6 separate regions of the Homo sapiens genome follow, and all the other regions are linked to region 1. The links are contacts of gene promoters, found by promoter capture Hi-C in blood cells and fetal thymus (Javierre and others, 2016). All regions are on one chromosome and are shown on one strand. Each heading gives the region's core, a stretch centred on a gene start or on the middle of the fragment in contact. The rest is flanking DNA. Distances are from core to core; before and after follow the strand shown. Region 1 holds the start of SELENON (selenoprotein N). Region 2 overlaps TMEM50A (transmembrane protein 50A). Region 3 has its middle 3.7 kb from the start of MACO1. Region 4 overlaps MACO1 (macoilin 1). Region 5 overlaps MACO1 (macoilin 1). Region 6 overlaps MACO1 (macoilin 1).

What was found. Contacts are between HindIII fragments. The CHiCAGO score rates a contact against its expected background, and 5 or more counts as called.
Region 2: a fragment that was not itself captured here is called in contact with the fragment with the promoter of SELENON in region 1 in 2 of 17 cell types (activated CD4 T cells and M0 macrophages); the score reaches 5.4 in activated CD4 T cells.
Region 3: a contact is called between a fragment that was not itself captured here and the fragment with the promoter of SELENON in region 1, in 6 of 17 cell types (fetal thymus, M0 macrophages, endothelial precursors and 3 more). The highest score is 6.8, in fetal thymus.
Region 4: a contact is called between a fragment that was not itself captured here and the fragment with the promoter of SELENON in region 1, in 6 of 17 cell types (total CD4 T cells, total CD8 T cells, naive CD4 T cells and 3 more). The highest score is 7.0, in total CD4 T cells.
Region 5: a contact is called between a fragment that was not itself captured here and the fragment with the promoter of SELENON in region 1, in 7 of 17 cell types (naive CD4 T cells, total CD4 T cells, non-activated CD4 T cells and 4 more). The highest score is 8.8, in naive CD4 T cells.
Region 6: a contact is called between a fragment that was not itself captured here and the fragment with the promoter of SELENON in region 1, in 11 of 17 cell types (naive CD4 T cells, total CD4 T cells, total CD8 T cells and 8 more). The highest score is 13.1, in naive CD4 T cells.

Annotation. Positions count from the first base shown.
Region 1 is chr1:25,797,688-25,802,723 of GRCh38, reverse strand. SELENON (selenoprotein N) reads right to left here and starts at 2,531. Exons shown (of 12, transcript NM_206926.2): 1 at 2,311-2,531; 2 at 1,564-1,681. The coding sequence starts at 2,493. RefSeq lists a silencer at 2,667-2,806 and an enhancer at 2,616-3,337. The HindIII fragment of the contact is 6,547 bases long and covers 1-5,036 here.
Region 2 is chr1:25,339,958-25,344,993 of GRCh38, reverse strand. It overlaps TMEM50A (transmembrane protein 50A), which reads right to left. Exons shown (of 7, transcript NM_014313.4): 2 at 4,415-4,520; 3 at 1,921-2,033. The coding sequence starts at 4,507. It also overlaps the pseudogene LOC124904723. Among named protein-coding and RNA genes, the nearest start is that of TMEM50A, 4.1 kb to the right of the region's middle. RefSeq lists a silencer at 910-1,110. The HindIII fragment of the contact is 1,378 bases long and covers 1,608-2,985 here.
Region 3 is chr1:25,424,717-25,429,752 of GRCh38, reverse strand. It overlaps a transcript of RHCE not described here. Among named protein-coding and RNA genes, the nearest start is that of MACO1, 3.7 kb to the left of the region's middle. The HindIII fragment of the contact is 2,182 bases long and covers 1,409-3,590 here.
Region 4 is chr1:25,444,432-25,449,467 of GRCh38, reverse strand. MACO1 (macoilin 1) reads right to left here. Exons shown (of 11, transcript NM_018202.6): 2 at 2,565-2,706; 3 at 534-660. Among named protein-coding and RNA genes, the nearest start is that of MACO1, 16 kb to the right of the region's middle. RefSeq lists an enhancer at 1,591-1,830. The HindIII fragment of the contact is 8,507 bases long and covers 1-5,036 here.
Region 5 is chr1:25,469,628-25,474,663 of GRCh38, reverse strand. The region is part of intron 6 of MACO1 (macoilin 1); the gene reads right to left. Among named protein-coding and RNA genes, the nearest start is that of MACO1, 41 kb to the right of the region's middle. The HindIII fragment of the contact is 7,817 bases long and covers 1-5,036 here.
Region 6 is chr1:25,487,044-25,492,079 of GRCh38, reverse strand. MACO1 (macoilin 1) reads right to left here. Exons shown (of 11, transcript NM_018202.6): 9 at 2,787-2,907; 10 at 496-670. Among named protein-coding and RNA genes, the nearest start is that of LDLRAP1, 54 kb to the left of the region's middle. The HindIII fragment of the contact is 4,032 bases long and covers 943-4,974 here.

The DNA.
Region 1 (5,036 bases), core at 1,282-3,781:
TAACCAAATAAATAAATAAATAATCACTGACTGCACTAGGCAAAAATGATAGCAAGAATGGAATAGGAGGCCGGGCACAGTGGCTCACGCCTGTAATCCCAGCACTTTGGGAGGCTGAGGCGGGCAGATCTCTTGAGGTCAGGAGTTCGAGACCAGCCTAGCTAACAAGGCAAAACCCCGTCTCTACTAAAAATACAAAATCAGCCCGGCATGGTGGTAGGTGCCTGTAATCCCAGCTCCTGGGAAGGCTGAGGCAGGGGAATTGCTTGAACCAGGGAGGCAGAAGCTGCAGTGAGCTGAGATTATGTCACTGCACTCCAGTCTAGGTGACAGAGGAAGACTCCATCTCAACAACAACAACAACAAAGAATGGAATAGAAATCTGAAAGCACCTAAGCAAAGTTTCAGATTTAGTAATGATAGTTATAGCTCCTGGCTGGGTGCGGTGGTTCACACCTGTAATTCCAGCACTTTGGGAGGCCAAGGTAAGAGGATCGTTTGAGCCCAGGAATTTGAGACCAGCCTAGGCAACGTAGTGAGACTGCATCTCTACAAAAATAGAAAAATCAGCTGGGCGTGGTAGCACATGCCTGTGGTCCCACTTACTCAGGAGGCTGAGGCAGGAGGATCAATTGAGCCAGGGAAGTTGAGGCTGCAGTGAGCTGTGACTGCACCACTGCACTCCAGTCTGGGTGACAGAACAAGACCCTGTCTCAAAAAAAAAAAAAAAGTTATAGCTGCTGTCTATTGGAAATCTACTGCATATTCGTCACTGTGCATTTCTTTTCTCTACTGAAACCTGTGAGCTGGTGCAGGACCCTGAAGCCAGATGGCCCCAGTTCTAGCCCTGGCTCCGCACCTTTCTAGCTTGGGAAACTGGGGAGCCTGCCTGTGCCTTAGTCTCTCAGACTATTAAACATGGGGATCATGACAGTGTCCATCTCCCAGGGCTACTGTGAGGTTTAAAGAGAGAACCCACATGAAATACTTAAATACCTGGCACGGAGGAGGTGGCCAAGGAATGGTTTTTTTGTTTTTTTGGTTTTGCTTTGTTTGTTTGTTTTGAGACAGGGTCTCACTCTGTCGCCCAGGCTGGAGTGCAGTGGTGTGATGTCAACTCACTGCAACCTCTGCCTCATGGCCTCTAGTGATCCTCCCACCTCAGCCTCCCAAGTAGCTGGGACTACAGGTGTGCACCACCACACCCGGCTAATTTTTGTATTTTTGTAGGGATGGGGTTTTGCCATGTTGACCAGGCTGGTCTTGAACTCCTGGGCTCAAGCGATCCTTCCATCTCCCAAAGTGTTGGGATTACAGGCGTGAGCTACCTCGCAGACCAAAGAATGTTAGCTGGTATTATTGCTCACAAGTCTGAGAAAAACAGGCTCAGGGGTTGCTGGAGCAGCTCGCCCAAGCCACCAGCTACAAAGTGTCAGAGCTGGGAGGAGTCCAGGGCCTCTGAGATCCCACGAGCTTCCCTCCACTCCAGACGGCCGCTCCTGCTCAGTGAAGACACCGTTGGCCAAGGCGCCCTCCTCCCCAGCCGCCAGTCTCTCCTGGTACCTGTTAGCTTCTCAGCAATGGGTTTGAACTCCTCAGGGCTGATGTACATATCCCCGTCAGTGTCCAAGGAGGAAAAGAGAAAAAGGCCATCTGTCCCCAGGGTCTTCAGCGCCAGTTCCTGCTTGGGAGGAGAGACTGGGCTGGGCACCATTTGGCGGCCTGGTCTCCTGGTCCCCAACAGGCAGTTGCTTCCGCATGGAGCCCCTTCTCCCACCATCTTCCTGAGCTCTCCCAGTGCCTCCCGGTCCATCTGTGCAAATGTTGCCTCTGAACTGCCCCAGAGCCTCCAGTCCCTCCTGGTCCCTGCTCATCCACTGTCTGGTCCGACTGCCCCCTCCCAGTTTGTCCCCACTCCGCCTTCCGCCTGGCCCTGGCTGCTTGGCCCTGTTCCTCCTGCACCTTCTGTCCTCTCCTGTGTCCCCTCCTCACTGTCCCAGGGCTCCCCAGTAACCCTTTAAGACTCTGCGGGAACCAGCTTCACTGTGTCCAGGTCACCCCTCTGGATAGAGACCCCTCCAGTCTGTCCCAGCCCCACACTGGCCTCCGTTCGCCTTCCCCCCATCAGCCCGGCCCCAGGCACCCCCCACCCGCCTCCCGTGTCCCCTCCTTCCCGTGCTCCCTCCCGTCCAGTCCCCCTCCGCCCTCCGCCTCCCCCGACTCGTCCATGCCCATGTCCCCCCTGCTGCCGAGGCTGGGTCCTTCAGTCCCCGCTCCCGCGCTCCCGCCCCAGCCAGCTCGGGCCCGGACCTGCCGCGCGGCCGCCTGGGCCTCGGCGTGGCGGGCGCAGACCCGGACGGCGGCGGCAGCGGCGGCGGCCAGCAGGGCTCCGAGCAGCGCCAGGGAACGGGCGCGGCGGCGCGGTGGCGCGGGAGGCTGCGCGGCGGGGCCGGGGCTGGGCGGCCCGCGTTGGCCCGGCCGGGCCCGGCCCATGGCTGCGGCTGGCGGCGGCTGCCGGCGGCCCGGGAAGCGAAAGAGCGGGGCGGGGCCGGGGGCGGGGCGGCCGGGGCGGGGAGGGGCGGGGCGGCCGCAGGGGCTGGGCGGGGGGTCGCTGGTTCCCGGCTTCGCAGCCCGGCCAGAGCCCGGGGCGGGGTCAGCTACACCGGAACGCCAAGAGGGGCTGATCGCGTCTATGCGGTCGGGTCCGTAGTCCCGGCCACCCCAGCCTCCCCAGGCCGCTTCCTGCCTCTCCGCGCCCCTTCCCGTGCTTCCGTTCCCAAAGCTAAGCCAGGCCTCTGCGGCCCACTTGCCTGGCCCAGCCCAGAGAGCGATTCCAGACTGGGGACTGGGACAAAGAAGGGGCTGGGGAGAAGCCACACACCCTGTGCTTTCCTGGAGAAGGGGCGTCGGGGGCCTCTGAGGCCTCGTGTCCTCCTCTGCTGGCAGCCGGGCACGAGGCCAGAGACTGCTGAGGGGCATCCGTCCATCCTTATCCCACCAGTTTTCTAAAAGTTCCTCTGTCATCTAGAGCAAGACAAATTAAAAAGAAAGCCCAGCCCCTGTTCCCCTCATGTGCAGTTGGGGGGCCACCTCCGCAGATGCATGGGTTATGGGGATTGGCCTTGTTCCAGGCACAGCAGGTGCAGCTCTGAACCTGCACTTCCCTGGGCCCAAATTTCCTCATCTCCACCAAGGAGTTAAAAGAGCCCCCCAACCCCCACCCTCCGGGCTCTGGTCTGGTGAGGGGAAGGCGAGGCTCCAGCCCCTCAGCAGCTGGAGCTACCAGAGGCCCTGGCTTTTCTGGAGAACAGCATGCGGCATGCTTGGAGGAGGGCCTTGGAAATAGGGGTGGGTGGTGTTGAGGACATATTTTCATGCCTGTCAATCCCCAGGACCTTGGTTCCTTGGGGCTCTCTTCCATTCTTTCAAAGCCCCCAGTTACCATGGGGTGGCTCTAGATGTCTCTACCTGCATTTTCTCAGGCGAGGGTGGCAGCTGCAGAAGCCTCTAGACAAGAATTCTGAGCCCAGAGGTGAGCAGTGCCTGCCTTTGCAGAGCCCCACCAACCCCCCCAGCGCAGGGGCACCTGTCAGGCCTGAGGGATCCAAAGGATGCTGAGCTCTGCCCATGTGCTGGACTTCAGGTGGGGTGATTTACACATTCTCTCACTCTGTTCTCAAGCCACCTTGTGAGGTAGAGACTGCTTCCCTGGTTTTCAAATGAAGAAGCCTGACCTCTGGCACCCAGGTCTATGGGTCCAAATCTCCTGCCATCCTGCCTCCCAGGCTTCCCACGGGATGACCCGGTCGACTGAGTTGGGGGTGGGGTCCTGCCTCCACTGCCCATCCTGTTCTTCTTTGGTGGCCAGCCATGGCAGCACCAGGTGAGGCCTTCCCAGAGCCCACACAGGGCGTGGCACATCGTGGGCACTCCTCAGTGTCTGTCAGATGAATGACTCCCAGGGACCTTCCAGAGTTGTGGGCCCACCCAACCCTTGCCCTGTGCTCTGGCCCCAGTGTCCTTAGAGGGACCCACTGAGAGCCTGACATCTGGCGTTGGCTTCTGAAGGCTTCCAACTGTGCCACTTTCAACTCATTATTGCTACTGTTTGGGGACACCCTGTGTACGATACATGATACTAGAAAACCAAATTCTATTCTATTGGAAGCAAAACTAGTAGAGCACAAAGCAGGTTAGGAGGGGAAGATTGATGAGCTAAGGCTTCTGGAAAATAAACAAAGGAAGTTTTCTTTCCCAGATAACTTTTATTTATTACACTTGCTTTTTCTTAAAGATACAGATACCCCACTGGTCTCTGCTGCCCAGTGCTGAAGAAATGGGTTTCTGGGGCTTGCGGGACTTGGGGGATGATTCTAGAAGCTCGGGAAGGCGCACAGTGGGGGTGGGTTAATGACAATCAGGTCAGATCAGTGTGCCTCTGTGAAAAGGATCAATCTTGGGCCCAGCTCTGGGAGATGTCAGCTCTGGGAGGTGTCAGCTCTGGGACTGGCAGTGGAGCAGGGCTGGTTTCCCACTGGAGGGCGCCCTTCCCAGAAGGGCTTGTCCCAAACCAAGATCCCCGGCAGGGCAAGGCCGTGAGAGATAGGGCCTAGTGGGTGGTTCTGGCTGGGGCAGCCCTGCAGGATCTCTTTGGCACCTTGCTATTGCCTCCCAGTGGGCAAGGGTGACACTTGGGAACTGGCAGCCAATGGGAACCACAGCAAGGTGAGTGACGCACTGGCCACGTCCATGAGGGTCTCGGAGGTTAGTGGGCACTCGCTCATTCATCCTTCCAACACATGTATTGAAGGGCTACTATGCCGTGTCCTGGCGATTGGGTGTCCATCAGAAAACAAAACAGTCTCTGCTCTTCCAGATGAGTCAATGGATACTGCAACCCTCCTCTCGAGGGGTAAGTGCTCTGAGAGGGGTGTGCACAGAGGAGGGTCCCCCTGACTATCAGGAGGGCTCAGAAGAGGCTTCCCAGAGCAGAGGTCTGGCCAGACCTTGACTTCAGGAGCTCACCAGGCATAGCA
Region 2 (5,036 bases), core at 1,047-3,546, 460 kb after region 1:
TCTGGGATGTTGATTTCTAAAACAAAAGAAGTTATAATACATTAAAGAATATAATTGAGAATTTGGGAAAAAAATAAAGATGTGATAATAGTAGAAAATGCAAGAAAACAAAGAAAAGGCAGCTAGAAACTCTAGGAAAAACAAAAAACTGAACAAGGCTACTACATTCCACATAGTAACTGTCCAAATTAGAACTGCAGCATTCAAGAAGAATAAAATGAATCCTAAAGAAAATATACATTCTTTCTACCAACAACCACCAAAAAAAAACAAAAAACAAAAAACAAAAAAAAACAATCAGAAACTCTAGGAAAGGTCGGGCACAGTGGCTCACACCTATAATCCTAGCACTTTGAGAGGCCAAGGCAGGTGGATCGCTTGAGCCCAGGAGTTCAAGACCAGCCTGGCAAACAAGGTGAGACCTCGTCTTAATTAAAGAAGAAAAAAAAAACTATAGGAAAAAACAATACTAAATAACAAAGTCACAGCCCAAGTATGAAGCAAACTAAACGATTTTATGAATTTGAGAAACTGGTAAGAATACAAGAATATTTTCAAAATACATTGATAAATTTGAGAAGCACAGAGTCATGGTGCTTATACTATTTGGCACTGCAATAAATTTTGTTTACCGGTTTTAAAAATTTTTCAACAGGAATGCTCCTATTAAAATATAAGGTCATTTCATTCCTCTGCTCGAAACCTTCCAATGGCTTCCATTACACTTACAATGAAAGTAAAGTTCTTATTTTTGTGATGGGGTCTTGCTCTGTTACCCAGACTGAAGTGCAGTGGCACAATCATGACTCACTGTAACATCGACTTGACTTCCCAGGCTCTGGCAATCCTCCCGCCTCAGCCTCCGGAGCAGCTGGGACCACAGGCATGCCCTACCAATTTTTGTATTTTGGTAGAGATGAGGTTTCACCATGTTGCCCAGGCTGGTCTCAAATTCCTGAGCTCAAGTGATCCACCCACCTCGGTATCCCAAAGTGCTGGAATTACAGGCATGAGTCACTGCATCCAGCTGAAAGTAAAGTTCTTATAATGCTTCTCAAGGCCCTATACCATCTGTCCCTCTCCACCACTTCTTTGACCTCATCAATTTCTCTTTCCCTTGATCTTGCTACTGCAGTTATACTGGTCTCCTTGCCGTAAAGCCTTTGTACTTGCTGTTTCACCTGCCTGGAATGAACCTCTCTTATATATCCCCATCCCCTGGTCAGCTCCTTCACTTTCTTCAAGTCTTTACTCAAAGTCACCTTCTTAGTGAGACCTTCTCTGACTCTGCTGAAAATTTCTGGCCACGTGTGGTGGCTCACACCTGTAATCCTGGCACTTTGGGAGGTCGAGGTGGGAGGATCACTTGAGCCCAGGAGACCAACCTGAGCAACATAATGAGACACCCTCTCTATAAAAAAAAAAATTTTTTAATTTCTATCCCTCCTATTGACATCCCTTTCTCCTTTGCACTTATTTGCACATATCTCCTTTCTCTATTTTTTCTCCTTTGCACTTATTTTAAATGACAAAAAGACATGGATTTTTCCTGTTTTACTAACTACTATATGTCCTGTACCTAGAGCAGAGTCTGGAATATAAAAGCTTAATAAATATTGTTGAAAGAATTATCCCTTAGACAAAATACACAGTTTCGGACTTAAATATAAAGCTATAAACCCTGGGGGTATAAAATAAAAGAATAGCTGAGAGAAGCTGGGAGGGAGTGGAGAGGTACACAAAAAGAATAAAGAGGACTGCTGCTTTTCTGTATAAGTCCATCTCTACTGTGTGACTTTTAAATCATGTCCAGTGTGTTAATCTGATAATATTTAGAATTTTAAATCTATGCAACTATATTTGAAACATTTTTATTTTGTGGCAAGCTATGTAAGTAATGCCAATTACGATGACACTTACATTAGGAAGGCTATGGTTGCTATAACACCACAGGCATGGTATGAGTGGTTGAAATCTTTCATGGTGGGATAAATAACAGCTGCATCTATGATAATCCACCAGCCTGTAAAAAACTAAAACAAAGGTGATACCAATGAGAAATCATAGCAATTCTGTATCTCACTGGCTAAAAGCAAGGTATTTAAGTGAGGAGATCCCTTTTAATACATTTCAAAAATGTTCTAGCTTTTTCCCACATGTAATTTGCACATGGCCTAATAACTGATTAGGTACCCTTAAATCTGAGAGCAATTTATATTTATTAACATAACTTTTCTCTAAGCCTACTTCAATCATTATTTAATTTTTATCATAATAAAGCCTTGTAATCTAATTTGGTGAACTAGAAACCAGTTATCTCATGGAGGGGGAAAGGAAAAAAGTGACTCCAATTCCAACTGACAGAAGTGTCCTGTTGATATATGATAAACTTCCAGAGAAATATTCCCCAAAATCAAGAAAAAAGCATTCAAATTAATATGGAGAACAACTATTGTTCACAGAATTTTAGCTATCTTCTTGGTGTGAAATAACAGCTCTGAGGTTCTGCTTTTGATGAATTCCAGTGCAGTCTAAATATGGTTTCAGGTGTGATTTTAAATTTAATTTAAACACCAGATTACAATTTATCTAATTGAATTTGGCTCTAGATATTATCAAGGGCAAAGGTATAACAAAATAACGCCAAAACTTCAAAAACAGTTTTTATCATCTGAGCAGATATTTACAATAAAATTATATTAACCAAATTCTGACAAGTAGCCTAGAAGATTTTAAAAGTAACCCCCTTTCCTTTCCTATCCCCACACCAAACCCTGACTCAGTTAGCTCTGGCAACTGACATCTTCTGGCAATTATTTTAAAGTAACAATTTTAGGCTAGTCAAATTACTTTTATCAGGTTACAGACAGATCCATACTCGATTAATAACATTTTTAATGGCTAGCATGAGTACATATGCCTTTCTTTTTACCCTCAGCTCAATGTATTTAAGATATTTTCTTCATAGACTAAAAACTCAAAGCTTTTTGGCCAGGTGCAATAGCCTGTAATCTCAGGACCTTGGGAGGCCAAGGCCAGTGAATCACTTGAGCCCAGGAGTAGGAGACCAGCCTGGGCAACATGGAGAGACCTCATCTCTACAAAAAAAACAAACAAAAAAAAAAACAAAAATTAGCCCGGTGTGGTGGCCTTCATCCGTGGTCCAGGCTACTCCGGAGGCTGAGGTGGGAGGATCACCTGAGCCCGGGAGGTCGAGGTTGCAATGAGCAGTGATTTCACCACTGTACTCCAGCCTGGGAGACAGAGTGAGACCCTGTCTCGAAAATAAATAAATCTTAAAGCTTAAGAAAAAATGGCTTGGTGCGGTGGCTCATGCCTGTAATCCCAACACTTTGGGAGGCCGAGGCAGACAGATCATCTGAGGTCGGGAGTTCAAGACCAGCTTGACCAACATGGAGAAACCCCGTCTCTACTAAAACAAGAGCAAGGCCAGGCGCGGTGGCTCACACCTGTAATTCCAGCACTTTGCAAGGCCGAGGCAGGCGGATCACGAGGTCAGGAGATCGAGACCACGGCGAAACCCCGTCTCTACTAAAATACAAAAAAATTAGCCGGGCGCAGTGGCGGGCGCCTGTAGTCCCAGCTACTCGGGAGGCTGAAGCAGGAGAATGGCGTGAACCCCGGGAAGCGGAGCTTGCAGTGAGCTGAGATTGCGCCACTGCACGCCAGCCTGGGCGACAGACTGAGACTCCGTCTCAAAAAAAACCAAAAAAAACAAAAACAACAACAACAAAAAAACAAGAGCAAAACTCTATCTCAAAAAATAAAAATAAAAAATTACTCTTTAGAGCCTACGACACCATATGATCATAAAAAACTAATAGCAGATCCCTTGAGGGATCTGAAGTGTAAATAAGAATTTTATTCTGTAAATTACTTCCACACAATGTATTTTAATGAGTTTCCTTTTTGTTTTTGCTTTTTAAAAAAAAATTTTAAGGGGCCATGCTAATCTTCTCTGTATTATTCCAATCTTAGTGTATGTGTTGCCAAAGCGAGCACTTTTTTTTCCCTGAGACTGAGAAGAAAGTTAACTGGATTATGGAGAAATGCAATCACATCTATTGACTGGTTTTGACCTGACTGCGTCTTAAACACTTCCTTGTACCTTAATATACTCATTAAAAGGAGATATAATCCATATAATGAACAAATGTTTTATTATGCCATTTTTACCATGCAGTTAAAACAACCCAACCACTTGTTAATCAAATTTTAAACCATAAACTCTTAAAGTGGAACTAATAACTCTCCACAAACAACAAAATATCAACATGGTCAAAGTGGTCAAAGATAAAATAAATAGTACATATTTTAAAACATCCTGCAGAATTCAAAACCCATAAACACAAACGCACCAAAAAATAAGGCCCAAATAATCAATGACACTTACTAGTACACCAGCAGCAATGGAAGCAATAGTATTGCGCTTTTCCCCCCAGTCAATGCATTCTGAGCATCTCAAGCCCTCTAGAAATCCAGACATTTTTTTCAGGTCACTTAAAAACAAACAAACAAACAATTAAATAAGTACTTCCATTTACTTGCTTCAAGCCCGAAAAATAATTAATAGCTCAGGAATAATTAGATAAAAGTGAAATTACAAATGCTTTATTTTGGTTCCACATACTTCTTCAGAATATTTGATTTAGTTTTTGATGAATTTCCACATTATAACTTTGGAAAGTAATATCTGGATTCATTTAGTATCTTTTTTAATGTAAAAAATGGTTTGGGGGCCGGGCGTGGTGGTTCATGCCCGTAATCCTACCAATTTGGGAGGCTGAGGTGGGTGGGTCACCTGAGGTCAGGAGTTTGAGACCAGCCTGGCCAACATGGCAAACCCCATCTCTACTAAAAATACAAAAATTAGCCGGGGGTGGTGGCGCATGTCTGTAATCGCAGCTACTTGGGAGGCTGAGGCAGGAGAATCGCTTGAACCTGGGAGTCGAAAGTTGCAGTGAGCCGAGATCGTGCCACTGCACTCCAGCCTGGGCGACAGAGCAAGACTCTGT
Region 3 (5,036 bases), core at 1,250-3,749, 370 kb after region 1:
TCACATTAACACAAATACAGTTGACATTTTATTGTATTTGCTTGTTTTCCAATTTTCCCCTATGGATGATAATGTTACTATTGCTATTAAATAGAATAGTGGTCATACTAGAATAGTAGTCATACTAGAATAGTAGTCATACTGTTTTTAACATAAGCATTTTTACATGTTTTAATGCAGCTTTTATAAATATTTCTGAAAATATTGCAGAATGTCCTATCCAGTAGCTTTATCAGTGTAATCCCTCAACGACAATGGGGCAGTTAGTCTTCCAGTGCATTTTTAAAACTTCCCAGGAAGGGCTGGGCGCGGTGGCTCACGCCTGTAATCCCAGCACTTTGGGAGGCCGAGGCGGGTAGATCACGAGGTCAGGAGATCGGAGACCATCCTGGATAACATGGTGAAACCCCATCTCTACTAAAAATACAAAAAATTAGCTGGGCATGGTGGCGGGCACCTGTAGTCCCAGCTACTCGAGAGGCTGAGGCAGGAGAGCGAGACTTTGTCTCAAAAAAAAAAAAAAAAAAAAAACTTCCCAGGAAGTAGATGCCATTTTGTTTTGTCCTGGGTTTCACAGAACTCTCTCTGGCCTGTAATCACCCCTCCCTTAATCAACATCTACCCCAGGGAGAAACTTTACACCAAATGCGTTGTCCTCAATCATGACTCTGTGTTACTTTCTTCTGCTCACAAACCTTCAAAGATCTCCCAGTGCCTGGAAGAGAAAACCCATTCTGTTTCGAAGGGCATCCAGAGCTGGTCACAGTGGGGACCCACCCTCCTTTTCCAGGCTACGCCAGGCAAGCAAACCGTTTTTCTCACTATCCTTAAATCCACTGCAACCGATCTTTCCCCCTTCCTGCCTCTGCCCCAACACAGTATCTCTGTCAGTGCCGCTTCTGGTGTGTGGTTTCTTAGGCAAGGCTTATCCATCCACTTAGGCAAAAAGCTTCTTGGAGATCAAATCTATACCCTGCAGAGATACAGTTAAGAAAAATGGCCAAAGTACTTGCTTTTTCAGAGTAGGGCTGAAATTCTAGCTTGGCCACTTACTAGCTTGGACAAGTTACTAAATCTCTCACAGTCTGTTTCCACTCAGGTTTGTTTTAAGGCTTGGAGGACAATGAGCCTTCAGAGCCAGACAAGCAGTAGGTAACAGAAAGTAACTGCTGTTAGCAGTATACTTGTTTCTCATGCCTTAATTCTACTTCAGTATATTGATCAAGTGGCACCGGGTGGCCAAGAAAACAAACTCTGTGAGCTCAAAGTTTCACCAAGGCCTGCCCATCATTGAGAAAGGATATGAACAGAATGCTATGTGTGGAGCAGTAGAAAAAAGCCTTCAGCTGCCAAGGCAGATTGGTTCACTGAGGAAGATACAGGTGGGAACCAAATCAAAATGGAAGCTTAAAGGCGTTGGGGAGCGCAGGAACAGGTACATGGTAAAGTCCGGGCTCCAGCCTCCATGGGAACCCCAGACTTGAATATCCCTCATCCCCATGACTGCAGTGTTCCAGATTACCTGGGCCAGAGACTAAGTGGGATGGTTAGATGAGTAAGCCAAAGAAAAGATGAGAGGCACTGGGGACACATGCCAGCTTTCTGAGGCTCACTGTCTAGCCTACTATTAAATAGACCCTGACAGGGCATCTCATGCTGTGGCAAAAGTGCGGAGTGGCTGGGAGCAATGGAGGTTGTGGCTGAGAGTTACTGTTGAGCTCTAGGACTATGTGGAAGCAGAGAAAGGGCAGAGAAAATCTGAGGGTGATGGCTGACAAACAATCTGAAGGTCTGGAGGTCTAAGTTCCAATCCCAATTCACATGGCAACTCACTAGTGTCCTTGGTTGAGTCACCAGCCCACCCTGTGCCAAGATCTCCTCTGGAGGTGGTGCTTCTAGTTCTATGTTTAGAAGCAGATTGTGCTAGCTCCATTTTACAAATGAGAAAACTGAGGCTGAGAGGAAACAAGGTCACATAATAGGTGTGGTAGAGCAATCTAGCTCAAAGCACAAGCTGAGCAAGCTGTGGTGCCTGTATATAGCTATTGATGGGTAGAGTTGGGGTGAGATGATGGGAATGGCCTTCTTGCCAAGACCCAAGGAGAGGCCAGAGCAGGACTGCCCATCTCCATACTCTTCCTCTTTCACTCCTCCAGACCCAGCTCTTTTTTCCATGACCCACTCTAGCACAAGCCCTTTTGGCTCCAGCCAAGTGCCAGCCTTTTTCCTCTGAGTCCTGAAATGGCCCTTTGGGATTCTAAGGGCACAGAAGTGGGCCTCCTGCCAGAAGGCCCCAGCTCCCCACACCTTCACCAGTCAGGAAGCAGAGATCAGCAGTGGCCATTTTACAAATGAGTGAAACAAGGAAGGGAAGTAATTTGCCCTCATTCAAAAGACCAAGGCCTACAGAGGAATTTAGGCTTGTCCCTCCTTCTGGGACTTTCTGATGAAGGGATTTGCACTTGGGCTTCAGCTGAGCCCAGAACAGCTCTAGAGGCCAGATCATTAAACCCTGTTTCACATATAAGGAAATGGTATTCCCACCTCTGTCAGCCCGTTCAATCCCCGCAAGCCCACTAGCTGTCTTGAGCTTTGTTCCTGCCCTGTAAGAATCACAGAAAAGTCCAAACATTTCGATGGCCACCTCTTAACACATGTACCTGTATCCCCTAGAGAAACCTATTTTTTTTTTTTTTGAGATGGAGTCTTGCTCTGTCACCCAGGCTGGAGTGCAGTGGTGCATTCTCAGCTCACTGCAATCTCTGCCTCCTGGGTTCAAGTGATTCTCCTGCCTCAGCCTCCAGAGTAGCTGAGACTATAGGCACACGCCACCACGCCTGGATAATTTTTGTGTTTTTAGTAGAAATGGGGTTTTGCCATGTTAGCCAGGCTGGTCTCAAACTCCTGACCTTAGGTGATCCACCTGCCTTGGCCTCCCAAAGTGCTGGGGTTACAGGCGTGAGACACCACACCAGGCCAGAACCATGTTAATGGAAGATGTTCACTGTAGTGTTTAGAACAGGGCTAGTTTGGGAGAGGACTGACCAAACACTTTATCACATATCCTTACCATGGAAGTCAGTGTGGCATGGAGGATGATTATACACAGCACTAACTATGGCAGCCGCCACTCCAAGTATCAGATACATTTTGTTTTAATCCTCACAACAATCCTATGAGATAGAGATTACTAGCACCATATTACAGATGAGGACACTGTGGCACAGAGGAGTTAAGGCACTTGCCTAAGGTCACATAGTAACAGAGTTGGGAATTCAAATCCAGGCAGTCTGCTTTCAGTGCCTGGGCTCTTTAACCACCATGTTATATTGTTGTAGAAAGATTTTCCTGGCTTGGAAACTGCTTATGATATAGAGTTCATGAAAATAGCAAGTTACCAAACAGTATGTGCTGTGTAATCCCATTTTTGTAGGGAGAAAAACAAGGCCTAAATCGACAGGAATAGAAAAACATCTGAAAGGATATACACTCAAAACATAGTGCTGGTTTTTGGAGAGACTGAAATGGACATTTTATGTTAGCTTTATGCATCTGTATTTTCAAAGTTTCTACAGTAAACTTGCCAAGCTTGTGTGATAATCATAATTGCTAACATTTATGGAGTGTTTTCTACACATCTGACACTTTATGCACTGCCTCGTTGAATCTTCACAACAACCCAGTGAGATTGACACTGATTTTCTGCCTTTCCAGATGAGGAAACAGGCACAGAGACACTGACTGTTTTACCCAAGGTCACACAGCTCATTCCAAAGCCAGAATTTGAACCAGGTTGCCTAACTCCAAAGCTCATGTGTGTTAAATCAATGAACGACTGACTTAGCTGCACTTTAGCCAAACGTGCCCAGAGCAAGGTCACACCCTTGGCGTGGACACATTTCCAGGGAGGGACCGGAGGACCTCCTACCTCATTGGTCACTGCCAGTGACTGAGCTTGACTCAGGTAGGAGGGCATGGCAGGTATTCTCAGGGAGTCTGGTGTTTACAGAAAAGTCATGATTACACGTGAAAGCTGTGGGCTCCCTGGCTTGATTCACCACACCTGCAGGAAGCCTGGCTGCTCAGACCAGCACGCCGTGGACATAGCACCACTTGCTCAGCTTCATTTCCGTAACTCAGGCTGCCAGGCCTGCTGACAAATTTTCACGTTTGTAATAACCCTGTGAGGAGACCAGAGTACATCTTACTTGACTCATAAGGAAATTGAGACTGGGTGATTTAGTAACTTGGGAGGCAGAATTGCAAAGTGATTAGCAACACAAGCCATGGTGTCAGATGGATCTGGGTTAGGTCCCACCTCTGCCGTTTATTAGCTGTGTGGCTTTGGGTACTCACGCCACCTCTCTGAGCAGCAGTTTCCTCTTTTGTAAGCGTAATGATGCCTACACTCACAGGCTTGAGAGGAAGATCCGATGAAATAGCATATGCAAAATGATTGGTTCCGTGCTTGGCATTCCAGAAATGGTAGCTGTTATTCAGCCAACAAATATTTATTGAGCACCTACTATGGACTTCCCTGGTGCTGAGGATACAACAGCAACCACAGCAGTCAAAAGTCCCTGTCTTTATGTTGCTCAGATTCTCATAGGGGAAAGCAGATAATGAACAAATACACGGCCAGACGCAGTGGCTCACGCCTGTAATCCCAGTACTTTGCGAGGCCAAGGTGGGCAAGTCACCTGAGGTCAGGAGTTCGAGACCAGCCTAGCCAACATGGTGAAACCCTGTCACTACTAAAAATACAAAAATTAGCGCAGTGTGGTGGCTCATGCCTGTAGTCCCAGCTACTTGGGAGGCTGAGGAAGGAGAATCGCTTGAACCTAAAAGGCAGAAGTTGCAATGAGCCAAGATCGTGCCACTGCATTCCAGCCTGGGTGACAGAGTACTCCATCTAAAAAAAAAACCTAAATACACAAGTAAAAATATAGACTTCGTCAGATGCTAGTAAGTGCTGTGAAGGAAACTAAAAGGGGAACACAAGGAACCCTTGTCAAGGGGAGCAGAAAGGGGAGTTG
Region 4 (5,036 bases), core at 1,158-3,657, 350 kb after region 1:
CTGGCTTAATATGAGGAATAACTTTATTTTATAGCTGCCCAAAAACAGAGTAGGGTACCAGGAACAGTAGGTAAGTTCCTTGTCACTGTAGGTTTTCCATCAGAGGTAAAACCACCACGTGTCAGGGATGCTGTGAGGATTCTTTTGCCAAATTAAGGGTTCATCTAAATGACATTCCTTTCAATGATGAAATTCCATGAACATTTTTTTTTCTTTTTTGGCACATGGCTGTCTTCAAGTATACCTACATAGAAATCAGTCCAACTATTTTTTTTTTAAAAAGATATATTCAGAGTGAGAGCTGGTACCTGCAATGCCTGTAATTAAAATATCAAATCATAACAGCTTAAAGTTTGTATTCAAATAACGAAAAAAGATATATATTTTTGAAGGTATATTATAACCTATTAAGAAAAGAAAACTTTAAAATGTCCACATTAAACTCAACTCTAAATAATGTATTCAAAGAAATAACCACATTTAAAAATTTGAATCTAAGATTTCTATCCATCTAAGAAATCATTAAGACTTACCTGTGTGCCATACGTACTGAACCCATACATATGTGCTAGCAGCAAAAAAAAGCCACTGTATGGGGATGAACAGCAGGCATATTATATTTGACGTGAATGCTACACAAACAAAAAATACTGAGAAGGCCTAAAGGGAAAAATAAAACAAAATAAAAGATACATCTTAGAACCTGTTATTTTCAACCACACATTGTTAAACACATGTTGGACAAAATTATTGAAACTGCTAAGAGATAACTTGGTAACTGTAAAGCAAATTCACAAAAGGAAATTTTAAACATTTAAAATCAACCATATAAAAAGTAGCGGTTACTTTAACATTAAAGAATACTAGTACTTTATGGTCCTCAAATCATGAAAAAGAACTGGATCAGAATGAGCTGAGGTGGGAACACAGTGAATTCATTTGGATTCCAAATAAATGTGGGTTACCTGAAAGAACTAGAATTTTTTTTTTCTTTTTTCTTTTTTGAGATGGAGTCTCGCTCTGTCACCCAGGCTGGAGTGCAGTGGTGCGATCTTGGCTCACTGCAACCTCCACCTCCCGGGTTCAAGCGATTCTTCTGCCTCGGCCTCTTGAGTAGCTGCAACTGTAGGCACTTGCCACTACACCCAACTAATTTTTTGTAACTTTAGTAGAGACAGGGTTTCACCATGTTAGCTAGGGTGGTCTCAATCCCCTGACCTTGTGATCCGCCCGCCTTGGCCTCCCAAAGTGCTGGGATTACAGGTGTGAACCACCACGTCTGGCCCTGAAAAAACTAGAATTTTAATACAGAAAAGTCTTCTCTCTCCTCACAAACCATTCCTAAAGAGCTTCATTCTTAAAAGACAGGCTGTCTGGAGCACAGATGAACCATAATATTAGTAAGAAATATACTGATGCTATTAGGTTGGTGCAAAAGTAATTGCACCAAACTAATAATAATTTTAATAATGCAGCTTTCCTCTGGACACCACTACCGCCAATAGAACATAAGCCGAAACTATCTTTTTAAAGCATAGATTTGCTCTGACCAAAGCACCAGGCCTGGGTGGGAGTTATAGTTTTAAGATGTGGCTGTAGAACACAACAGAATTAACACATTAATCAAGGGAACAAGCCCAGGCCTATGCTTGCTCCAATCCAGCAGCTGTCTAAATGTGGTTTGGGGATTTCTGGGGTGTCTTTGAGATCCCTCCAAGGGCTCTTTGAGGTTAAAACTATTTTCATAACAATACTAAGATGTTATCTGCCTTTTTTACACTCACTCATGCATATGGTGGAATTTTCTGTAAGTTACATGACATGTGATACAGTAACAGACTGACTTCAGAAGCAGATATGAGAATGTAGGTGTCTTCCATTGAGCCAAATATTAAAGAGATTTACAAAAATGGAGCCACTCTTCTATATTCTGTTTGTTTTAGAAAATATAACTATTTTTCACTTAAAAATGTAATTTCTATTAACGTGTAATGGGCTTATTATGATGTTTAAGTGCATTAATAAGTGTGTATTTTAAATTTTTCTCAGTTTTAATTTCTAATACAGTAAATCTGGATAGATATAAGCCACATTAACAAAGGCTCTCTGGAGTCCTCAATAGTTTTTACGAGTGAAAAGGGGCCCTGAGACCAAAACGTTTGAAACACTACTCTAACTCCAATCCAATCACTAACCTAGCAACAGGGAACCCAGAAACACTTCAAAGCAGGACTGAGCAATTTTTTTTTTAAGGTAGGAACGGCCTTTATGGTTGCAATGGGAAATGGAAGAGGAGGGAATATGCCATCCCCAGACTAGGTTGCCGCCCTCCAAAAGCCTGAGTAATTATTGCTTCCTCCACTGTTCTGTTTCACTGGAATGGGAGAGGAGGAGAAAATGTAACTATTTGATCAATGGGTTTAGACAAAATAGTTTAGAGGTCAATTTCAGTTAACAGACCCTATTAGCTAATCCTAACATAGTTACCTGAGTATTGCTAATAACATCTACTCTAAACAGCTGAATGGTCCCCACACATGGAAAACATGTATTACCAGACATACCAGTCCCTGGTATCTGAAGGAATCATAGACGCTTCTGATGAAAAGCCAGAATGGCCACAGGTATTCAAATCTGAACTCCAGGACAAAATCTGCTAGGAGGACAAGTGCCCACACCACCAGGAATTTCAGGTATAAAAATGTACTGCAAAATATAAAAATAAAGAATTAATTTAAGGTCATTTGTGAATAACTAGAAATAGAAAATTCACTGTTTCTGTTTAAAACGACAAAAAAATACCTCCATATATCATGAAAACAATGGAGATAAAGCACAAAAAAGAGATGCTGCCGTGGCCCATCTGCATTTTAAATGCTCTGGTGTTCATTCTCAGACCCAAAACTATCAAGATAAGATGATACCAAAAACGCTTAATTCTACTTAAGATGGAAAAAAACCATTTAAATCCCACCACTATTTTAAAAATGTGCTAAGTGTCTGACTTCAAAATACTGCAACACTCTCAAAATTACAGCTTTCAAGCTGTTTTTCATTAGAAGAAAATGTCACAGTTGAAAGGCTTCAAATTTGCTGTTTCCCCACCCCTATACATCTGTTTGAAGAGTCTTTGAAATTCTTGACGCACATCCTTACATGCTTAAAGAATTCTGTCTTTTTTTCCCCCTTTTTTCCTCTTGCCTCTGTATATAGTATTCATCTGCATTAACCAAACAAAAACCAAATGACTTCCCCAAATAGACAGAAACAAACTTAGGGAGCAGATGCTAATCACTACCAAGGGCTGTGAAGGCATAAAAATGTACATTAAAGAAAAAACTCCTTAAACATCTAAGCCATGCTCCAGCTGAGATATAAATGTGTGTTCCCAGTTCCCTCTGGACTTGTGTTAAACAGAAACACTCAGACAAGCCAGTTAGGACACATATGTAACCACTGCAGTAGGTCAAACAAGGACACAGAAAAAAAATATTATTTTTCATATACTCTATAGGTCAATTTTCCAGTTCATTAGTTGCATAATGGACAATAGAATCCTTTAGATTCTACTTGTTAACAAGCCTCTATTTCTGTGCTCCTAATCCTGCCAATTCTGGAGGTCAAATTTAGGTATTAAAAAATATTTTCCACAATATACAAAATGGAAATACCTAAAATTCACTTTCATTTGGGATAAAGCCTTGCACGGTATTTTGTAATACAAATATTCCAATACTGATGTGATCAAATTAGTCATTTAAAAAAACAACAAAATTGAGATTTTTAATAAATAATTTTGAAATATATTCCAATAAGATACAAAAGACTTACATACTTGGAGGAAAAAAACAAAAACAAAAGCAAGAACTTAAAGTAAAATAATAAAAAGAAAAGAGAAAAAAAGAAAAAAGAAAAAAAAAGTAGGATCCAGCATTGAGGATTTATTTTGTGCCCTTTGAAGCCATTCAGGCAAGAGATGTCAAGAACAGAAACATTTGACCCTCAATGATACAGTATTCACAGTGATACATAATTTGTCATCTAGGGTCGATTTCTAATATTTATCCTTAGAACTTCTTTAGGTTTGATAATAAGTTTCTACTAAGAGGTATGCCATAAAGGAATCCAAAGCAAATCACAAAAGAACGCAATCTTTTTTTTTTTTTTTTGAGACAGGGTCTTGAGCTGTCTCCCAGGATGGAGTGCAATGGCACGATCATAGCTCACAGCAGCCTCAATCTACTGGGCTCAAGTGATCCTTCTACCTCAGCTTCCCAAGTAGGTGGTAATATAGGCATGCGCCACCATGTTTGGCTTTTTTTTTTTTTTTTTTTTAATAGAGATGGGAGTCTCACCATGTTACCCAGGCTGGTCTCAAACTCCTGGGCTCCTCCTGTCTCACCCTCCCAAAGTGTTGGGATTTCAGGTATGTGCCTGGCCAGAACACAGTCTTGAATCCTAAGTCCCACCTTTTAGTTTCATTTCACTAGAGTTCTGCTGGCCAGATGAAGATAGAGCCCTCGTAATTCTCACTCATTAAATCCATAACTGACCTAGTGGAGAGCAATGCACATTTTATTACAAAGAACAAACGAGGGCCAGGCACAGTGGCTTATATCTGTAATCCCAACACTTTGGGTGGCCAAGGTGTCCAGGAGTTCGAGACCAGCCTGGGCAACATAGTGAGACCCCATCTGTACAAAAAATTTAAAAATTAGCCAGGTGTAGTGGCACACACTTGTAGTCCCAGCTACTCAGAAGGCTGAGGTAAAAGAATTGTTTGAACCTGGGAGGTCCACGCTGCAGTGAGCCACGACTGTGCCACTGCACTCCAGCCTGGGTGACAGAGCAAGACCCTGTCTCAAAACAAAAACAAAAACAAACAAAAAAACACAACTGACTCATGCAGGTATTCGGGAGCACAAATCTAGTTTGAAACTAGATTTCCAAGGTGCTTGACTTTAAAACTAAGAGTTTTTTTCCTTGTGTCTAGAACCCTTTCTACGTTTTGAAAAAGGAATAACAGCCTCTCCACC
Region 5 (5,036 bases), core at 1,284-3,783, 330 kb after region 1:
GAATGCCAGAAGGCCCCAAACCACCCTTATCACAAGGCTGTCCCCTCTCCTTCTAAGCGGTATGAAAGCCTCACAGTCAGGTGTGGGAATTTAACAGTAAAGGGAGTGGTGTTTCACTCTAGAGAGGTACCATCAACATGGCCTATTTTCTAGGAGCACAGAAGACTGAAGAAGAAAAAGCAAAAAGGTCCCATTAATATATGGCAGATTAGTTCATAGGATTTACCAGGTATTCCCTAATAGAAAAGTCCTTGCTAAAGGAAAGTCAAGTTTTCACTGGTGGGGCCAGAGGGCTAGAGGGAGCAAAACACAAGTATAACAGAAAAAGTGAGGCACAGAGGTTGCAAACTGGTGAGCCAATATAGCCCATAAACATGTTTTGTTTGACCCTCCTCCTACATGATGTTAAAAAAAAAGTTTTTTAACTGAGAGGTTTCACGTAAAGATATTTTCAGCATCTCCCCAAAGTATCAGAAGACTTGGCAACATTGGGCCTACAATCCCCCATGGCAACAACTGGCTGTCCCCTTTGGAAGGGTTTATGCTCCCCAAATGCTAGGTGTCAGGTTCAGTACTGAATGAGAATGATGACAATGCCAGACTCCAGAGTGCTCACCCTAGCCTGCCTCACTCACTCCTGTAGGAGTCTGAGTCTGCAATACTTGCTCTGGAGCAGAGTGTGGGGGGAGTAATGGTCCTTTCTAATTCATTAATTTGTGTTTCTGTTTTGAATCTATTGGAACACTCTAACAAGAAAAGTGAAATGTACCTTGTGATAGAGGAGAGTTGTCATTCTACCTATAAAAAAGAAACTGAAAGTTGGTTTTAAAGATCTAAGAGGTACCCAAGAGATTTGCAAAGATGAAATATACCCACATTGGCTGGCAAAGTATCCAAATAGCCAGTTTCTAAATGATAGCATGAATAATATTTAAAGAATATGGTTCCTTTTCCTTGGGGTTACCTTCCCTTCAGGGAATCCACCCCTAACCCCCTTAGATGAAAAACTAAATTCATTATATGCCAACAGAGGTACTGACTCAGAATTTAACACAAAGCCTTTCAAAGTTTTGTAATAGTTCCTTCTCAATTCTAGGGAGTAAACTTTCAAACAGCCTATCTAGAAATCAGTTTTGATAGAATGAACTCTCGGGACTCAACATAAAAATTTTTTTTTTCATGTTTATGTAGAAGCCCCCTCCCCAATAACCTACATGTTACTTCATAATTTATCCATACACCATAATCACCTTCCTGTTTGGCCTCTTAGATATGGAGACATTCGGTAAACTGTTTGCTTAAATTCACTTATGCCTAGTTTCTAAAATGCCACGTTTTTCAAGCCACAAAAAACCCTGTTTAAGTATAAAATCATGCCTCTATTACCACATTTATATCCCAGAATACGATAGTTTTAAATTCCTGCAATGGTTAAAATAAACTCAAACTATATTGTATATTAATATAAACAGAGTCAAACTATAGGTATAGAAAATATTATGGTTATAGCAGAAAATGAAAATTAATCAGGTCCGACAAAGTATATCTGCTCAGACATAGTGCTAGAAAAACATAAATCAAAAACATGTTTCCACAGAGACAGAAAACACACTAAACTTACTAGACAGATGTCTCTACTACTTATTTTTTCCCACTTGATAATTTCCAAATAATTCAGCAGCAGCTATAGCCAACATATTCAATTTAGTCTAGCTAGAACATCTAAGTGTCTAGTTTTCACAGTTCCCATTCTAAAATTTCATACATTTTTATTATAATTTTATATCTCAGCTAGAATAATGCTGTTCCGAAAAATTATTTTATGCCTCACAGAAGTAGAAAGGCCGGCTGTGGTCGCCATCACTCAGGGAGGGGTCAAGCAGGTGACTCTGCAGCAATCTGTCAGCACCCTGTTGTGTAGCCACCTGTAGGGAAAGCAGCTAGGGGAACCCCCAAAGCCTGAATCACTGTCTACCAAGATCAGATTTTCTTCCGCAAACTACTCCTGACACAAGCAAAATGCATTCAAAGCAGAAGAGAACAAACAAATTTAACATTCTCTCTGTAGCATTAGAGAGAAAGCAGCCAAACACATATTCTAACCTGGAGGATCTCCTTGGAGAGAAGGTTGGAACAGAAACATGGATGAAGCTGGAAACCATCATTCTCAGCAAACTAACACAGGAAGAGAAAACCAAACACCGCATGTTCTCACTCATAAGTGGGAGATGAACAATGAGAACGCATGAACACAGGGAGGGGAACATCACACACCGGGGCCTGTTGAGGGGTGGGGGGCTAGGGGCGGGATAGCATTAGGAGAAATACCTAATGTAGATGACGGGTTGATGGGTGCAGCAAACCACTATGGCATGTATGTACCTGTGTAACAAACCTGCACATTCTGCACATGTATCCCAGAACTCATGCACATGTATCCCAGAACTCAAAGTATAATATATATATTTTTTTAATGTGGGATCTGAGCTGTATTTCCAGCTACCACAAAGACAAAGAATGATCTGGGACTGGCGAGGAGAGAGAGGGCTAGACCCACCAGAAAAGATGAATAAGACAAGGCAAACTGAGATTATCTTCCCTGTTCCTGGCTGAGATGAGGCTTCTGTCTAGATTCCTTGGCCCTGAAGCACAACCAACCCCACTGCCAGAGCAAATGCCTTTTTTGACAACAGTGTCTCAGAGGACTTTTCTCCTCTTTTCCCTTGTAACTTCCAGAAATTCTTACACCTCTTTCAAAGCCTTGGGAAAAACTACTGACGGAGTGCTGGATTTTAAAACTTTCTGTGAAATACCAAGAAAAGGGGTTTGGAGCAAAGAGACTTTCTATTTAGAAATAAAATTATTAATAACCTCAAAAATAACAAAGAGTTTGACACTGGATGTGCAGTCCTCGATTGGGTCTAATGTGATATTCAGGTTTTCTAACTTCAAAAGCCTTTGAGTTGCACTGTGATAAAATTACTGGGTGCCACCCTCCCTGCTTCCTAGTATTTTCCCTGCACAAAGGTAGCATTTATTAATTCAACAAGTATTTACTGAGTATCTACTCTGTGCTAGCCAAGCACTGTGTACTGTGACAAACCAGTGAAAATAAGTTCCCTGTCCTTACTGAGCTTACATTCTATTATGGTATAATAAGCATGTTATAAAAACTTAAACTATGCAGAAATAAACAATGCAGAAAGTAAATGTCTCTGGCAGCCAACTACAATTGACCATCTGGTATATATTTCAAGTAATTTTCTGTGCACATGAGAAATATATCTACCCATATTTTTCTTTCTTTCTTTTTTTTTTTTTTGTTGAGACAGAGTCTTGCTCTGTCGCCCAGGCTGGAGTGCAGTGGCACGATCTCTGCTCACTGCAATCTCTGCCTCTCAGGTTCAAGTGAGTTGCATGCCTCAGCCTCTTGAGTAGCTGGGATTACAGGCACCCGCCACTGCACTCAGCTAATTTTTGTATTTTTAGTAGAGACAGAGTTTTGCCATGTTGGCAAGGCTGGTCTCGAACTCCTGGCCTTATGTGATCCACCTGCTTTGACCTCCCAAAGTGCTGGGATTACAGGTGTGAGCCACCGTACCCGGCCCTACCCATATATATTTTTAATTTTTTTTAAAGACAGGTTCTCACTCTGTGGCCCAGGCTGGAGTGCAGAGGTGCGACCCTGGCTCACTGCAACCTCTGACTCCCAGGTTCAAGTGATTCTCGTGCCTCAGCCTCCTGAGTAGCTGGGACTACAGGCACATGCCACCACGCCCAGCTAATTTTTATATTTTTAGTAGAGATGGGGTTTCGCCATGTTGGCCAGGCTGGTCTCAAACTCCTGACCTCAACTGATCCACCTGCCTCAGCCTCCCAAAGTGTGGGATTACAGGTGTGAACCACTGAGCCCGGCCCCTACCCATATTTTTCCATGGATTCATACTATACAATCTGTTTTGCTACCTGCCCCCTCCCCACCCCACTTTAGCAGACAATCTTGGGTTCCTTTAATTACCTTAAGATGGGCTTGCACCTTTCAAGATAATTGTTTGTTATCTTTCCCACTTAACTACTGTGGTTCCCCACTAAGGACTCATCAGGGCCTTGGGAGAAGGATGGAATCCTCCATGAAAGGCCACCTGCCCCTGGGTTACCAGTCCAGGGAATGCTCACAGGCTCTGTCTCCTAAACTGACCGCTCTGTCTTGCTTCAACCCAATGGTCAGGTCCCAGCTTTGGATTCTATTCTTGCTTCATGCCTATTAACAACCTTGGGCTACATGCTCTGAATCTTCTTCTCCACCTTCTGTTGCAACTTTCTCTCTTGCCCTGGAGCTAGGAGCCAGCCTCAACCACTCCTAACCCTGACCCAGGCCAGTTCCCTACAAGAGATAAAGAATGATAGAAAGATAGATAGTAAATAGCATTAGCCCCCAAATTTGCTAGTGGCTTTGAAATGTTTCTCTAAGATCACAAAATAGGGACATCTTGGATTCTCTCTTCACTTTGCTCTGTTTTATAGTTATTCACACCAAATCATATTGAATCCACTGATTATGAAAAATCAGTATCTAAAAATATAGTCCTTTCTATTCAACAAATGTGTAATTTTAAATTGGGTGTAGACATCTTATAATGTGGAGAAACAAAAAATAAGTACCCTAAAACATCTACTTTAGTTTTTTCCTAAACTGCAAGACCAAATACACCAAGGAGTCTTATAAAAGTCAGAGGTTGGCCGGGCGCGGTGGCTCATGCCTGTAATCCCAGCACTTTGGGAAGCTGAGGCGGGTGGATCACAAAGTCAGGAGTTCGAGACCAGCCTGGCCAATACGGTGAAACCCCGTCTCTACAAAAATTAGCCAGGCATGGTGGCGCACGCCTGTAGTCCCAGCTACTCGGGAGGCTGAGGCAGGAGAATCACTTGAACCCAGAAGACAGAGGTTGCAGTGAGCCGAGATCGGACCACTGCACTACGGCCTGGGTGACAGAGCAGGACTCTGTCTCAAAAAAAAAAAAAAAAAAAAAGTCAGA
Region 6 (5,036 bases), core at 1,709-4,208, 310 kb after region 1:
CTTGCCTAAGCTGTTTCTTCTGTGTGGACCCCTCTACCCCTCACCCTCCACCACACTGCTGCTTCACTGGGCCAACTCCTCATCATTCAGGCCCACCTCAGACATCAGCTCCCCTGGGGAGAGGCCCTCTCCAATTCCCCAGACTAGTTTCGTCCCTGACTCTTTCTATGTTCCCTCAGGCCCCGTATATACTTATACCTAAGCACCTTTTGATGCCTCTGCAGTTCTCTACTTCTTCAACAACACTGTGAGCTCCTTGAATGTAGAAATCATACTATTCTCTGTATGCCCTGCACTTGACATGTTCTCATCTCAAAATATGTCTGCAAATGAATTAATGTGATGGTTCCTATATTTCAATGTTGGGCACTTACCAAGACTCTTGAAGAGAAAACTGAAATGCCCCTTGGTTGAGAGCTCTCAGGAGAGGTCTGGCCTGTGCATCCCTGTGCATTATCAGTCACACCACCTCACCAGGGGCCCACGTTCTCCTACCTTGGGCAATCTCGAGCTGCCGCTTTGCATCGCCCAGTGCGGAGAACAGGTCCAGCTTGATTCTCGTCTCTGCACTTAAGCTGTTCTCCAGGTGCTGTGTTTTGTCTTGCATGGCTGAGAGGGCTGACATTAACACCTCAGTGTCCTTCTCATTTTCCTTATATTTCCGAAGCTCCTATCAATATCATCAAAACAGCAATGCTACAAGGTAGTTTTGGCATCGATGTCTATAAATTAGCCTGAAATCACAAATTAAATCCCACTATTCTTGGTCTGGCCACTAGAACACAAAATCTGGTGTTTCATGGGTTTAGGCAAGTGCTAAATGTGTTTATATGGCAATAAGCACATACAAAAATATTTAGAAGATGATCATTTGACTGTGCTGGGCATGTGTCTAGAAAACAATGGAATCTGCTTCCAAATAAAACACTTTTCTTATAAGCTTAATTCAGAACCACAGAAAACATTTTTCCTTGCTGGCCACGTGCAAATTATCATAATGCTGTAATCGAACTTGCCAAAACTCAACCTGCATTAATAATTGTAAAAATGTTAATTATTTTGACAGGGCATACTGCAGAATAAGCCCACTTTAATGTAAACAATTAATATATACAGATATTTGAATTTTTCTTTTTAACAGAAAAATCCAAACTTATTACAGAGAATTTAGGAATATAGAAAAATTCAAAGAAGAAAATGAAAATTACTCATAATACCAACACTAAAAAATTTAATATTTCTTTTAATCTTTTATGCATATGTGTATCTTTTAGCAGAAGTGAAATATTAAATGTACAGTTTTGTACATAGTCTTTTAAAAACTAAATGATTTTAACTATTGTTTGAAAATAAAATTTTTATTGGCTGTACAATATTCCTGAATGTTTACATACCAAAATTTAAATGACTCTCCCATTGTTAAGACTGTTTTCAATTTTTTTGCATTTTTATACCACTACGATGAACATCTCTGTACATCACTCATTGGTGAGATTTTAAAATTGTTTACCTTAGGCTGGATTCCTAAAAAAGGTAAATACTTAAAAAGTGCAAGACCTTTTCCAGAAAGTTACATTTCTACCAGCAATGTATGAGGCCTATTTTGTTGCATCCTCACCATGATTGATATTCTCATTTAAAAATCATCTGCTAATTTCATAGGAGAAAAATGATATCTACTTTTAATCTGCATGTCTTTGATGATTGGTGAGTTTATATTTTTATGATCTTATCAGTCACCTGTATTTCCTCTGAATTATTTGTTCACATCCTCAGCCTATTTTGCTATATATATGAGCTTTCCTTAGCAACTTTTATGAGCTACGGATATGTTGAGAATATTAATTCCTTATTTATAATATTTGTTGCAATATTCATACCTTCCCCAATCAATTTTTTCATTTATTATTATGATTTTTGCTTTGTGATTTTTTCCCATTGCTTGTATGTTTAGAAAATCTTTCCCTTGTTTCAAGGTCAAGTATATTTCCACCTAGTTTTTAAAAACTCATTTATTCTTTGTTTTTTCTGCCTTCAACTCTTCATCTGGAATTTCTTTATATGTGGCATGAGATGAGTTTCTAATTTTTTTTCTCCAGTTATTTAGCTATTCCAAAGCCTTTTACTGACTAATCGTTACCTTTCCCATCTATCTCTGATGCCACCTTTACTTTTTTTCGTATTTTTTTCGGTACTGTACTCCAGGCCATCATTCTAGTCCACTGACTTGACAGTAATTTTTCACTTGTCCCACCTGGCTCAAATTACTGTAACTTTACAATATATGACATTAGTTTAAATGACAAATATTTGGCTAAAGTATACACAGCCCATAAAACAGGCTACGTCCATAGCACTAGCACCTTTCCTATCATTCACTGCTATGAACAACAATCTGCAAGGCTCAGAGCCATGCAGGAGGGTCAGTCCCCTGGCAATAGAAAGAGGGTTGGGGCTAAAAGGAGGTGTGTAAGTTTCAAAGGACACTAATCTGGCCTATAACCTGAAAAAGTTAAATGAATCTACAGCAAGTTAAATCCTGGTATAAAACATACCAAGGGATTGTCAACATTTCTGGTTTGTATTAGAATCTGGCTACATTAATATGACTTGAAATGAGCTGGACAAGATTAGAACTTCAAATCTTTTTGTCACATAGAGATTTTTCAGATGCAATGAGATTTGATCTATATTAAAAGGCATCATCTCTACACTGCAACACAGAGCACAAGTTTAGCATAAAAGTGGAATTCAAATACAAGGGAAGTCTTTTGTTCCCCCCTTACCTGGACTTTTAGTTCTAGTTCTCTGATTTGGTCTTCTTTCACCTTCATGTCCATCGTGAGCTTCTTGCCCTCTGCTTCTAGTTCTCTGATCCGATTCCGTAAGGTTTCGGTGCATTCTCCCCTTTTGAAAAAGAAGAGAAGGAAATAAAGTGATTTAAAAGACTATAGGTTGGGGCTGGGCCCTGTGACTCAGGCCTGTAATCCCAGCACTTTGGGAGGCCGAGGCAGGCAGATTATTTGAGGTCAGGGGTTCGAGACCAACCTGACCAGCATGGTGAAACCCCGTCTCTACTAAAAATACAAAAAAAATTGGCTGGGCATGGTGGTACATGCCTGTAGTCCCAGCTACTGGGGAGGCTGAGGCAGAAGAATTGCTTGAACCCAGGAGGTGGAGGTTGCAGCGAGTCCAGATCGTGCCACTGCACTCCAGCTTGGGCGTCCGAGTGAGACTCCATCTCAAAAACAAATAAATAAATAAATAAATAAAATTTTAAAAAAGACTATAGGTTGGCCGAGTGCAGTGGCTCACGCCTGTAATCACAGCAATTTGGGAGGCCAAGGCAGGTGGATCACTTGAGGTCAGGAGTTCAAGACCAGCCTGGCCAACACAGTGAAACCCTCTCTCTACAAAAATTAGCTGGGTGTAGTGGCACACATCTGTAATCCCAGCTACTCGGGAGGCCGAGGCAGGAGAATTGCTTGTACCTGGGAGGCAGAGGCTGCACTGAGCTGAGATGGTGTCACAGCACGTTAGCCTGGGTGACAAAGTGAGACTCTGTCTCAAAAAAAAGAAAAAAAAAAGACTATAGGTTTACTTGTATTGTGGGATTTATATTTCTTTTAATTTCTTTTATACTCCAGGGTCTGTCAGGTTTTAGCTTTTGGCTCAGTCTGCTCAGTTCTCTGTGTCCTTTGATAATTTCAATAATACTCTAAAATAACTGGGCTGGGCATGGTGGCTCATGCCCGTAATCCCAGCACTCCCAAGGCCAAGGTGGGAGGACTGCTTGAGCCCAGAGTCTGAGATCAGCCTGGGCAACACAGAGAGACCCTGTCTCTACAAAAAATTTAAAAAATAGCTGGGCATAGTAGCACATGCCTGTAGTCCCAGCTACTCAGGAGGCTGAGGCAAGAGGACAACTTGAGCCCAGGAGTTTCAGGTTATAGTAAGCTATGACTGCACCATTGCACTCCAGTCTGGGTGACAGAATGATATCCTGTCTCAAAATACATACATATATACAATAATTATTACTGAGTGTCTAGATGAGCCAGACACTAAGGTACTTTACCCATACTACCTTCTTCAATCCTTATAACAACCTAGGGTATATTTATCCCATTTTCCAGATAAGAAAACTGAGGCTACATAGATAAAATACTAGTTCAAGGTTACCTAGCTTTTAGGTCTTAGAATAGGGATAAGAACTGAGATTTTCTGGCTTCCCAATCCAGCAAACTTCCCACCAGGCCATGAGACTTGAGACAATACACACAAAGCCAGATAGAACTGAACATGTACTATGTCCAGCAGGGGGCGGTGAACTAGAAAAAAATTTTCCCCCCACTTTTGAGGGGCTACGCATTGGGACTTTTGTCTTTCTTGTCATAAAGTTGCCACAAGACTGGAGTAAACAGAAAAATAAGGGCACACTGTTGAGCTGCTTCTCAGGGCTATCATAAGGTTGAGCTAAAAGAGATGATGGCAATGGCCAGTCCAAAGCTGGTACTGTCTAGGTTCCAGAAACAGCCCAATGAAGAAAGTAGGTGTTCTCTGCCTACCAAAACGGAAGGTCCAGTCAGAGATTTATGCCCTGAGATTTACTGAATAAATTATGGCAGGCCTGGTGTGGTGGCTCACGCCTGTAATCCCAGCACTTTGGGAGGTCAAGGTGGGCAGATCACCTGAGGTCAGGAGTTCGAGACCAGCCTGCCAAGATGGTGAAACCTCGTCTCTACTAAAAATACAAAAAGTTGCTGGGCACGGTGGCAGGAGCCTGTAATCCCAGCTACTTGGGAGGCTGAGGCAGGAGAATCGCTTGAACCTGGGTGGCAAAGGCTGCAGTGAGCTGAGATCGCGCCACTGCACTCCAGCCTGGGTGACAGAGTTAGACTCCGTCTCAAAAAGAAGGAAAAAAAGAATAAGTTATGAAAAACAAGGACTATCCAGGGATAAGATAAATAAGCTTAACTGGAAGCAAAAGGGATTTGGGGTAGACACTGAAATCAACTTACTGATTCTCAGGCATG